Regions from separate parts of the Homo sapiens genome. Here region 2 is linked to region 1. Evidence: promoter capture Hi-C in human tissues and cell types (Jung and others, 2019). All regions are on one chromosome and are shown on one strand. The core of a region is centred on a gene start or on the middle of the fragment in contact, and the rest is flanking DNA. Distances in the headings are between cores, read along the strand shown.

Region 1 (6,035 bases), core at 297-2,796:
CTCCGAATACCAATTGGCTGCTTAATCGGCTCCATCAGCTCGCCCGGGGGAGACCTTCCTGGTACTGCTGTGTGACCTTCGGTGTGCCCTGCCCTCTCTGGGCCTCGCTTGGTCGCTGAAGGTCCTTCTCTCCCTGGCCATGGCTCGGGGTTGGCTTTAGGGTGGGCCTGAGATGAGGGACATGGGACATCTGAGGCCAGGAAGCCTAGGCTGGCTCCCCAGAGAGGGCAAATCCCCAAAAGCACCCACTGGTGAATGAGGACAGAGAGGCTTGAAGAGGGGAGGTGGCCTGACAGAATTGACGGTGGAGCGTGTGGGGCCTAAGTGTGCGCTCATGCCTGTGTGTCCCTGTCCCTCCAGCAGGCCCTATGGAGGCCTCAGAGCCCCTGATGCTCCCCACTGGCTCCCCAAAAACTGGCGTGGAAGGAGACTAGCCTGAACCCTTTGCAGAAGGGAAACTCCTCTGCACACTGCCCGGCTCCACGGTCCACAGCTCCCTTCATGGGGAGCTCCCCACAGGGGCCTCCATCTCAGGATGCCCTTGATGGTGAGGTGTGGGACCTGCTCCCAGGTGACACACCTGTTCCCGTAAGTCCTACCGAGTGGTCTGTTCTGTGTGCCCTAAGACAGCCCTGAATGGGCGGCAGTGAGGGGGTCTCCAGCCCTGTCTCCATCCTGGCTGACTCCCACAGACCCATCCCAGGAACAAGGGTTGGAGCAGGGCAGTGGCTGGAAGAAATTTCCCCTGGGAGTACAACGCAGACCAGAGCCAGGGTCTCCAACAAGGCAGGGAGGGCCAGGACGGGGAGGCGGCCACAGGATTCTTGGATGCCTCATCATACTAGGTCCTTTGTCTCTTAACATTGTTTTCACCACCCCTCCTCCACTGTCCTGATTCCATCGTCATGGAAACTTCAGGCTTCACCTTTACAATGTCAGGCCACCAACACCCTCAGCAGTGTCACCATCACCATCAACACCCCAGCGTCCCATCCCCATCTCCTCTACCACTGCCACCAGCCCCACTATCACTATCATCTCTGTCACCGTCACCACGGTGCTCTCCACCCGTGTCAGCATTGTGTCACCACCACATCACTGTCACCACACTTCCTCCACCTCCATCTCCACCCACCATCCCATCTGTGACATCACCTTATCAGCTCTGCCACCAGTATCAACCACTCACACCGCCTTTGCCATCACCACCGTCATTGCCCCCTCTACTACCACCACCATCACCACCACCGGGTCTGCCTCAGCCAGACCCACCACTGCCTCTAATTAGACTGCCACCATCATCACTGCCACCACCACTGCCCCTCCAATGCCTTCCTGATGTCACCATCTGCTTTCTCTCTGCTATCCTCACACCCAACTCCATCACAACCACCACCTTCATCTGAGCCGCCATCACCCTCACAGTACACAGCCCTCAAATGTGTACCAAGGAGGAGGACATTTACTACACGCTGCACCCTGAACAGTCTGGGACCAGCGGTCAGGGAACAAGGAATCGAGATGCTCACCTGCAGCTCCCAGGTGAGCGGCTCTCTAGAGCTTGCCTGGGAGCTGCTGAGGAGCTCACGGTATTCCAGGAAGCTCCCCATCCATGCCTCAGCCTGTGGCTCAGAAGCAGGGTCTTCGCAGAAGATTGCCCCGAGCTGTTGCAAAGCTCACCATTGTCACCTGCCTGCAACGGCCTCTCTTTTCCACTCTCCAAATCCCTTGTATTGGCAGGCTCTAGTCTGGAATTATACCGGTGATGGGATTCTGGAAAATCCCTCAGATTTCTCCAGGATGCAAGGAGACCATGGAAGAGGTTGGTGTAATGCCAAGTTAGCAACAGAAAATACAGAGCCCCACACCTCAGTGCCATCACCATCGCCATCGGCACTCACACCAGCATGTCCACCACTGTGTCCTTCTCACCCCTCGGCACCCCCCTCTACCATTGCCTCTTCCACAACCACCCTCACCACCATCCTCCATTAATAGCACAATTCCTGCCTCCTATCCCATCACCACCACGGGTGTCCCCGGCACCAGCAGCACCAACACTGCTCCCAGCAGAGCCATCGTTACCAGCCCCGCTGTCAGTCCCATCTTGAGCATCTGGCATATGTTGGAGAACTGCTCACTCCCTCTTCCCCATGGGAATCTCAGGCCTCTCTTCCTATTGCCCTGAGATTTGCAGAACCTTCCTGAAGGAAACATTCTTTGCCCCATGGATACTGGCCTTGACCATGGGATGCAGCAAGACTGCCACACATCATGGCCCAACAGAAGCTTTCAGAGGCAGCCCAAGTTCCTGCTGTCTCTGAGTGGCACTGTCATGAGAGAGGGGTGTGCAGGTCAGAGCTGATTCTCCAGCCTGGGACCCACAGTGAGAAGCTATGGGAGGTGGGGCCCTGGCAGCTGCCTGTAGGCACCAGTGAGTGAAGTGGGGGGAACTAGATGTTTGTCGTGAGCCACTGAGAGGTGGAAGCTGTCACTGTGGTATAGCCGAACAAGATACAACCTCTGCTACCTCCACCACCTTCACCTTCATCATCACCATTACTGTCACCACTGCCAACCACACCAATGGCTCACTAGGAGCCATTCCCATCACCTCCTCATCATACCTGCACCATCACTGCCAACCACAACAAAGGCTCGCTGTTACCATCTCCTCTGGCATGACCATCACCACCACCACTACCATCATCAATTACTCTCAAGCACAAGCCTTGCTGCTGTCACCACCAGCATCACCATCATCATGATCAACTCCACCATCACCCATAATTACTCTCCCCCTCACACCCACCATGACCATTACCTCCACATCAACACTGCTCCCATGGTCACCTCTACTATATAATGACACCTTATCCATCTCCATGGACACCCACCGTGCCTCTCCCCACCAGCAACACAGTCAACAGCAGTGCCTCTCCCACTGCCACCGCCATCATGGAGAACTGTGCAGGGCAAGCATCTTTCTCCCGCCCCAGGAACAAGCCTGCAAGGGACAGCAGGTGCTAACTGCTAACCGAGACATAGTGACAAAAATCCAGCCACAGAGATAAAGAATCAGGTTCATCTGTAGCTACATCCAGTGGAGAAGTTCTGCTCTTCAACTCCTCTGCTAAGCCACATGTGTCAGCAGGTGTAGGTGGGTGGATGCCCAGCATGGGGGTGCGAGTCGTGCTTTTGATAAGCTGCATGGAGGGACAGCGATGGTCACTGGAGGCTGGGTTTACAAAGTGTCTCTACAGTCTGTCTCCATTCCTCCTGGCATTTGGGATTGGTTAGAACACACACTGTCCCCTGCTAGGAGCCTGAAACCTAGCACCCATGAGCACTGAAAGAAAAGAGAGAGAGGGAGGATAATAGAAAGGGATGAAGACTAGAAAAAGGAAGAGGAGGAAGAAGGGAGGAATGAAGGAAGGAAGGAGGAAGGAAAGAAGCCAGGAGTGAAGAAGGGAGGGAAGGGAGAAGGGGGAAGGGGAGGGAGGAAGGAAAGAAAGAAGGAAGGAAGGAGAAAGGGAGGAAGGAAGGAAGGAAGGAAGGAGGAAATGAAGGAAGGAGGGGGAAGGGAGGGAGGGAGGAGGGAAGGAAGGCAGGGAACGGAAGGGAAGGGAAGGGAAAGAAGGAGGGAAGGAGGGAGGGAGGAAGGGAGGAAGGAAAGAAGGCAGGCAGGAAGGCTATCTTTAGTTAAGACTTGGTGACCCAAACATCTAGGCTCTTTATTGGTGTGGTTAGTAGGTGGTTTAGCATGGTTTTGATCTTAATTGGAGTGGGGTGAGGTGAAGGTAGGAACAGATATTAATCAGTATTGTGAATTGCTGTTTCTATATATGATCCAACACCAGAACAAGAATTAAAGGAATATAAATGCCTAAGAATATTTGGTTACCTCACTCACCTGATTCGTTTTCTAGGGCTGTTACAAATTATTACAAACTGGGTAGCTCAATACAAAAGAAATCTCTTCCCCCAGTTCTGGAGGCCAGAGGTCTGAAATCGAGGTGTTAGTGGGGCCGCACTCCCTCTGGAGGCTGCAGGGAGAACCCTCCTGGCCCCCAGCTTCCAGCTGCGTCAGTGTCCATCTCCTATACGGACATGTGTCACTGGATTTAGGGCCCACTCAGATAATCCAGGATGATCTCATCTCGACATCCTTAATTTAATTACATCCGAAAAGATCCTTTTTCCAAATAAGCTCACATTCAGAGGTTCCAAGGATTAGGATAGGAACATATCTTTTTGGGGGCCACCATTCAACCCACTACAGTCAGTAATCAATATTTATCATCAATTCCTATTTTTCTTACCAGAATTGAGTGGAACACTTCTTTGGATTTGCTGTCCGCTGCAGCCTTGGCCCTGGTTTCACATCCCCTCCCTCACTGACTCGCTGTGTGACCTTGAGCACTGTGTGTCTCTGAGCCTGGTTCATCCAAGAGTTTACCGACGGCCCTCGTGTGCCAGCCACTGTCCTAGACAGGGACAGACTTTCCCGCCTTTGTGGAGCTTACCCCGGAAGACCTGGCCAGATAATGGGCACAAAAAAAGCAGGCTCTTGTCCCCACCCCAGCCTGCCTGAACCCCACCTTGGCCTCCTCTTGCCTCAGCTGCTGCCCAGCCATCGGCCGAGTGGACATACCCAGGACGCCCTTGCCCGCCTCCCCCACCACGGCCACAGACCTTTGTCACTCACCAAGGCTGGAATCCCGTGGCTGATCCTGCCTCTGCCCTTTGGCTCCCGGGACTCAGCCCACACCACCTGGGTCACAGAGCATCCCATTCCCACACACCGTTGTGGCCACCTCACCAGCAGGGGCAGGCCCATATGCCCAGGTTTGCCTGGTGAGGAGCTGGGGGCGGGGGTATGCCCCGCCCCGGGAGCTGACGTCATAAAAGGAGCTCTGGAGGGCAGCCCACTCTGGCCTGGCCCCACAGCGGCAGTGTCCCTCCCCTCCCCCCACTCCTCTCAGTGGGGGCCCCTCCAGTCCCTGAGAATTGGTACTACGAAAAGGTGAACTCCTGGGCAGAATCTTGCCTAGAGCTTGCGGAGTCCAGCCAGGCCCCTGCTGAAGGGCCCCAGACCACCGGCCACTTCTCCCCCGTCCATCTGACCAGCTGGGCCCCTGCGCCCACCTGGCCTCCACGTTCCCTCTCCTCTCACCCACACCCCTGGCCATGGCTAACTACTACGAAGTGCTGGGCGTGCAGGCCAGCGCTTCCCCGGAGGACATCAAGAAAGCCTACCGCAAGCTGGCCCTTCGTTGGCACCCCGACAAGAACCCTGACAATAAGGAGGAGGCGGAGAAGAAGTTCAAGCTGGTGTCTGAGGCCTATGAGGTTCTGTCTGACTCCAAGAAACGCTCCCTGTATGACCGTGCTGGCTGTGACAGCTGGCGGGCTGGTGGCGGGGCCAGCACGCCCTACCACAGCCCCTTCGACACCGGCTACACCTTCCGTAACCCTGAGGACATCTTCCGGGAGTTTTTTGGTGGCCTGGACCCTTTCTCCTTTGAGTTCTGGGACAGCCCATTCAATAGTGACCGTGGTGGCCGGGGCCATGGCCTGAGGGGGGCCTTCTCGGCAGGCTTTGGAGAATTTCCGGCCTTCATGGAGGCCTTCTCATCCTTCAACATGCTGGGCTGCAGCGGGGGCAGCCACACCACCTTCTCATCCACCTCCTTCGGGGGCTCCAGTTCTGGCAGCTCGGGGTTCAAGTCGGTGATGTCGTCCACCGAGATGATCAATGGCCACAAGGTCACCACCAAGCGCATCGTGGAGAACGGGCAGGAGCGCGTGGAGGTGGAGGAAGACGGGCAGCTCAAGTCGGTGACTGTGAACGGCAAGGAGCAGCTCAAATGGATGGACAGCAAGTAGGCGCTGGCCACCCGGCCCTGCCTTCCCACCACCACCACCGTGCATGGGGCAGCAAACACGTGGGGCCGCAGACATAGCCTGATGGTTAATAAATGTGCCAAGTGAGTTCATGGCATAGCTTTCTCAGCTTTGTGGGGACATGGGGC
Region 2 (6,298 bases), core at 2,453-4,952, 76 kb before region 1:
CCTTTGCATTTGTTCCAATGTTTTCTAATTTCATTTGCAGTTTTTTTTCTTCGACTCATGGGTTATTTTTATTTATTTATTTATTTACTTATTTAATTTTTTTTTTTTTTGAGATGGAGTCTCGCTCTGTCGCCCAGGCTGGAGTGCAGTGGCGCAATCTCGGCTCACTGCAAGCTCCGCCTCCCAGGTTCACACCATTCTCCTGCCTCAGCCTCCTGAGTAGCTGGGACTACAGGCGCCCGCCACCACGTCCGGCTAATTTTTTGTATTTTTAGTAGAGACGGGGTTTCACCGCGTTAACCAGGATGGTCTCGATCTCCTGACCTCATGATCTGCCCTCCTTGGCCTCCCAAAGTGCTGGGATTACAGGTGTGAGCCATGGTGCCTGGCTAACTCATGGATTATTTAGAAGTGTGTTATTTAGTTGGGGATTGACTTCCAATTTAATTCTATTGTTGTCAGAAGAGACATTTAGTATGATTTTCACCCTTTAAAATATATTGACACTTCCATTATGGTGCAGAATACAGTCTGTTTTGGCTAACGCTTTCTGTGTACTTGAAAGATATGTATTCAGATGTTGGATGGAGTGTTCTATAAACAGTAATTAGGTTAAGTTGTTTGATGATGTTGTTCATGTCTTCTATATCAGAGATTGGCAGGCTGGGTGTGGTGGCTCATGCCTGTAATCCCAGCATTTTGGGAGGCCAAGGCAGGTGAATCACCTGAGGTCAGGAGTTCGAGACCACCCTGACCAACATGGTAAAACCCTGTTTCTACTAAAAATACAAAAATCAGCTGGAAATGGTGGCGCATACTTGTAATCCCAGCTATTCAGGAGGCTGAGGCAGGAGAATCGCTTGAACCTGGCAGGCAGAGGTTGCAGTGGGCCGAGATTGCGCCACGGCACTCACACCTGGGTGACAGTGCGAGACTCTGTCTCAAAAAAAAAAAAAAAAAAGATTGGCAAACTTTTTTTAAAGAGCCACATTATAAGATTATAAATATTTTTGTCAGTGGAGGCCATACCATCTCTGTTGCAACTCAACTACTGAACTCTGCCATTATAGCATGAAGGCAGTCACCAACAGTATATAAAAAAGTGTTTGTGGTTGTTTTCCAATAAAACTTTATTTACAAAAACAAGGCTAATCTGTTTTCAGACCTCTGTTCTATAAGTTTATTGATTTTCTGTCTGCTTGTTCTGTCAGTTATTGAGAAGATGTGTCGAAATCTCCAGCCATAACTGTGGATTTGTCTATTTTTCCTTTTAGTTTTTGCTTCATATATTTTGAAGTCATGTTATTAGGTGCATTAATATTTAGGATTTTTATGTTTTCTTGACTAAGTAACTCTTTATCATTATGGAATGTCCCTCTTTATTCCTGGCAATAGTTCTTGTCCTGAAATCTATTTTATATGATATTAGTATAGCATCCCAGCTTTTCAAAAAGAGTAACTTCATGGTATGTGTGTATTATATATATGGAATATATATATTATATATATGAAATATATACAATATGGAATATATATTATATATATGAAACATATACAATATAGAATATATATAATATGGAATATATAATATATGGAACATGCATATTATATATGGCATATATGAATATGCATATTATGTATGGTAAATATGAACATGCATATTATATGTGGTATATATGAATATGCATATTATATATGAATATGCATATTATATGTGGTATATATGAATATGCATATTATATATGGTAAATATGAATATGCATGTTATATATGGTATATATGAACATGCATATTATATATGAATATGCATATTATATATGGTAAATATGAATATGCATATTATATATGGTAAATATGAATATACATATTATATATGGTAAATATGAATATGCATATTATATATGGTATATATGAATATGCATATTATATATGGTAAATATGAATATACATATTATATATGGTAAATATGAATATGCATATTATATATGGTAAATATGAACATGCATATTATATATGAATATGCATATTACATATGACTATGCATATTATATGTGGTAAATATGACTATGCATATTATATGTGGTAAATATGAATATGCATATTATATATGGCAAATATGAATATGCATATTATATATGAATATGCATATTATATATGGAATATATATGAAATAATATATAGTGAAATATATTATATATTTATGTATTATAAAATATATAATATATAATAATATATACAAATGAAATATATATATATTTACACTCCACTTAAAAATTTTTAACCTATCTGTAGCTTTTATATTTAAAATGGATTTCTTGTAGACAGCATATAGTTAGGTCTTATTTTAAAAAAATTTGGTTGTGCACAGTGGCTCACGTCTGTAATCCCAGCACTCTGGGGGGCCGAGGCAGGTGGATCACCTGAGGTCAGGAGTTTGAGACCAGCCTGGCCAACATGGTGAAACCCCATCTGTACTAAAAATACAAAAAAATTAGCCAGGCATGACGGTGGAGGCCTGTAATTTCAGCTACTCAGGAGGTTGAGGCAGGAGAATCTCTTGAACCCGGGAGGCAGAGGTTGCAGAGAGCCGAGATCGCACCATTGCACTCCAGCCTGGGCAACAAGAGCAAAACTCCATCTCAAAAAAAAAATTTTTTTTTGATCTGATAATCTGTGCCTTTTAGTTAGAATGTTAGAACATTTACATTTACTGTGATGATTGATATGGCTGAATTTAATTCTAGCATATTGCTAGTTTCTTTCTATGCCATCTGTTCTTTGTTTTTCCTTTTTTTCCTGCTTTATTTTTCTTCTGCAATGTCTAATATGCTGTTAATCCCATCCATTGTAGTTTTTATTTGTAGAAGCTTAATTTTTGACTTTTTTATATGTTCAATTTCTCTTTTCATCATGTTCATGTTTTCTTCTCCCTTCTTGAACATGTTGAGTATTTTTATAATAGTTGTCTTAATGCCATAATCTAATAATTCTATCATTTGTGTCATTTGTTGATCTGTTTCTATTGATTAATTTTTCTCCTTATATTTTCCTGTTTCTTTGCATGTCTGATGATTTTTGATTGAATAGCAGATTTATAAGTGTTTTGATCCTGGGTGCTGGATTTTTGTCTGTTTGTGCTTTGTTCTGGGATAGAGTTTGATTCTTTTGTGACTTGCTTTTAAGCATTGACCCAGAATAGCCTTTAATCTAGGACTAATTTGGCCCCATTGTTGAGTTCCATTCTGGCCAGTGGGAACATGAACACTTCCTGGCCCTGTGTCAACCCTAGGGATTGTTCTGTCTGCTACTTTTCCGTGGTTCTTTACCTAGCCTCACAAGTTTCTTCACATACATGCAATGATCAGTATTCCACTGACTAACCAAGGAGAGCCCTGTGCAGAATTTCAGTACCACCTACCCCCTCTCTTCAGCTCTCTTTCTGGTACTCTGCCTTGTTAATTCTGTCTACCTTGTCTTCTGAACACTGTCTCTGTAAATCAGGGAGACCACAAGAATCTGTTTAAGCCTCCCTCCCAGCACTGGAGCCTGAAACTCCCTTCAGAGATGAGACAGCACAGCGATGGGGCTCACCTCATTTGTTTTCATTCCCTCAGAGATCATCATCCTGCACTGTTGGTAAAATCTGAAAACCATTGTTTTGCATATTTTGTTTTGTTTAGTTGTTTAAGATGGGAGGGTAAGTCTACTCCCTGTTATACCATCATGACCAGAAGCAGAAGTCATATAATTTGATCTGCCTAAACACCAACAAAAAAGGTTCTTTAGGTCAGGTGACTAGAGCCCTGAATTGAATTGCCATAATAGGGAGTCACAGTCCCTTATCCAGTTCCCAGACCAAAGCCAGTTCACAGACCAGGTATCCCTTGAATAAAGAGGAGGCTGGAATCCCTGAGGAATTACCTTGTGACATTGCCCCCAAGCCAGGCCCAAGAGACTCAGGCATGGTATTCCTTTTAGAAGTGCTGAGAAAAGTTACTCTTTCTCTGCTGGGATTGCTCAGCTAGGAAGAGGTAAGGATGGAGATGCTGTGGCCATTGTGGGGTGGGTCAAGACATATGGAGGAAACAAGAACAAAGAAATGGACACAGCCTGGTTCCTGAAGCCACCTTTTGAGCCCCCACACCAGCCTTGTGGGTCATGGTTGTTCAGTCTCATGAGCCAATGTATTACCTGTTTTGCTTAAGTCGCTTTGAGGTGGGTTTCTGTGTTGGGTTGAGACCTGAGGAATTTGTGTCAGGGCATGAAAGGAGCTTCTTGAGAGAGGAAGCACTCCCAGGGTCTGGATCACATGAAATAGCCCAGGAAAAATCCAGGCAATGTGAGTCTGCAGATTCCAATTGGGAATGCCAACTAGGGATACCAAGGAGCTCACCTAGCCCCAAGAAGATGAGGGGGGCAAACCAGACATCCCAATTCCAGAGCTCAACCCTTGCCAGGATACTACCTGCAGCCCCTCTGGGACTTCCATGTCCTCTTTCTTGTCTCTATAAGCATATGTGACATCTGACTTGTGACAGGTCTGGGGCTAGTGCTCCAGTGGGGAGGTATATTCAGCTTTTCTTGCATTGTTATAAAGAAATACCTGAGACTGGGTAATTTATAAAGAAAAGAGGTTTAATTGGTTCATGGTTCTGCAGGCTGTACAAGCATGGTGCTGGCATCTGCTTGGCTTCTGGGGAGGCCTCAAGAAGCTTACAGTCATGGTGGACGGTGAAGCAGGATCAGGTACCTCATATAGCAAAAGCAGGAGCAAAAGAGAGAGAGAGTGGGAGGGGGTAGGTGGCACACACCTAAACAATTAGATCTTGTGAGAACTTACTACAGTGAGGACAGCACCAAGCCATGAGGGGTCCACCCCCATGACCAAAACTCCTCCCACCAGGCCCCATCTGCAACACTGGGATTACAATTCAACATGAAGATTTGGTGGGGATAAATATCTAAACTATATCAGGAGGAGAAAGGGATACACAGGGGGTTCTGCATTCCTTGAGGGTAAGGTCCGAGCAGGAGGCTGGGAGCTGATTTTCTACACAGGTTACCCTGCCTCTTCTATACCCTATCATACGGTGGGTGGTGTCCTTAGATATGCACATCTCCCCTCCCAGCCCCCAGACTTCTCAGATATCACTGAGCTCCAATTGCACTGAAACCAGTATCCCCCTCACCATGTACCTCCCTCACCCAGCCCATTATCCATCCAGGAGCCATTCAGGGGTGCATCCTTAGTTCTAGGCCCTGGACCAAGCTCTGGGGCTACAGTATTGCCAGATATGTCCCTTCTTTCTACAAGTGGAGGTGAAAGTCAGCCAGTCCTGGAAAGCCCCAGCATGGCTCCACATGGATGCATTGCCAAGAAGAAGCAGAAGTGTGTGTGAGTTCTTACCCACTAGAATGGCTATAGTAAATTAGACAGACCAAAATTACTGTCGAGGGTGTAGAGAGATGGGAATGCTCATACACTGCTGGTGGGAATGTAAGGTGGTGTAGCTGCTTTGGAAAATAATTTGGTGGCTGGCCGGGTGTGTAATGGTGGCATGCCTCATGCCTGTAATCCCAGCGCTTTGGGATGCTGAGGTGGGAGGATCACTTGAGGCCAGGAGTTCAAGACCAGCCTGGGCAACATAGCGAGACCTCATCTTAAAAAGAAAACAAAAATAATTTGGTGGTTTCTCAAACAGTTAAACATAACACTACCATACAACCCAGCAATTCCACTCCTAGGTGGAATAAAATGAAAATAAGAGAAATGAAAGCATATGTCCACACAGAAACTTGTACATTAATGTTCTTAGCAGCATTATTCATAATAGTCAAAGAGTAGAAACAACCCAAATGCTCATCAACTGATGAATGGATAAACAGTATGTGGCATAATGAAACATTATGCAGCTATGAAAAGGAATGAAGCCCATTTACATGCTCCAACATGATGAACCTTGAAAACATTAAGCTAATTGAAAGAAGCCAGTCACAAAAGGCCACATATTGTATTTGTTACCACAAGTTGTTGAATTCTATACTTGAAATGGATGAGTTTTATGACATGTAAAATACACCTCAGTAGTTTTTTCTTTTTAAAAAAAGTGTGTTAGGAGACTGAGGAGGAGTAACGTGGGTGGACGGTGGAGATGGAAGACTCAGTTCTGAGGTTTGTCTTCCTTAATAATTCAGAAATCTGCCCAATTCTTTCCATTCCTACTGCCACCACTCTGGACCAAGCTGCTATCATCTGTCTGTCTGTTTCCCTGACCACTGCCACAGTGTCCTCACTGAC

Evidence for each region. The method cuts DNA at HindIII sites, captures the fragments that hold promoters and counts their contacts. A contact is called where the count stands out against the background at its distance.
Region 2: a contact is called between a fragment that was not itself captured here and the fragment with the promoter of DNAJB8 in region 1, in 2 of the 25 tissues and cell types used here (H1 embryonic stem cells and IMR-90 fibroblasts).

What each region holds. Positions count from the first base shown.
Region 1 is chr3:128,462,401-128,468,435 of GRCh38, reverse strand. DNAJB8 (DnaJ heat shock protein family (Hsp40) member B8) reads left to right here and starts at 1,546. Exons shown (of 3, transcript NM_153330.6): 1 at 1,546-1,822; 2 at 3,000-3,160; 3 at 4,326-5,999. The coding sequence starts at 5,191. The coding sequence ends at 5,889. It overlaps DNAJB8-AS1 (DNAJB8 antisense RNA 1), which reads right to left and starts at 4,842. Exons shown (of 3, transcript NR_037890.1): 1 at 4,709-4,842; 2 at 4,323-4,536. The HindIII fragment of the contact is 25,608 bases long and covers 1-6,035 here.
Region 2 is chr3:128,540,143-128,546,440 of GRCh38, reverse strand. No RefSeq gene overlaps it. Among named protein-coding and RNA genes, the nearest start is that of LINC01565, 33 kb to the left of the region's middle. The HindIII fragment of the contact is 5,343 bases long and covers 1,031-6,298 here.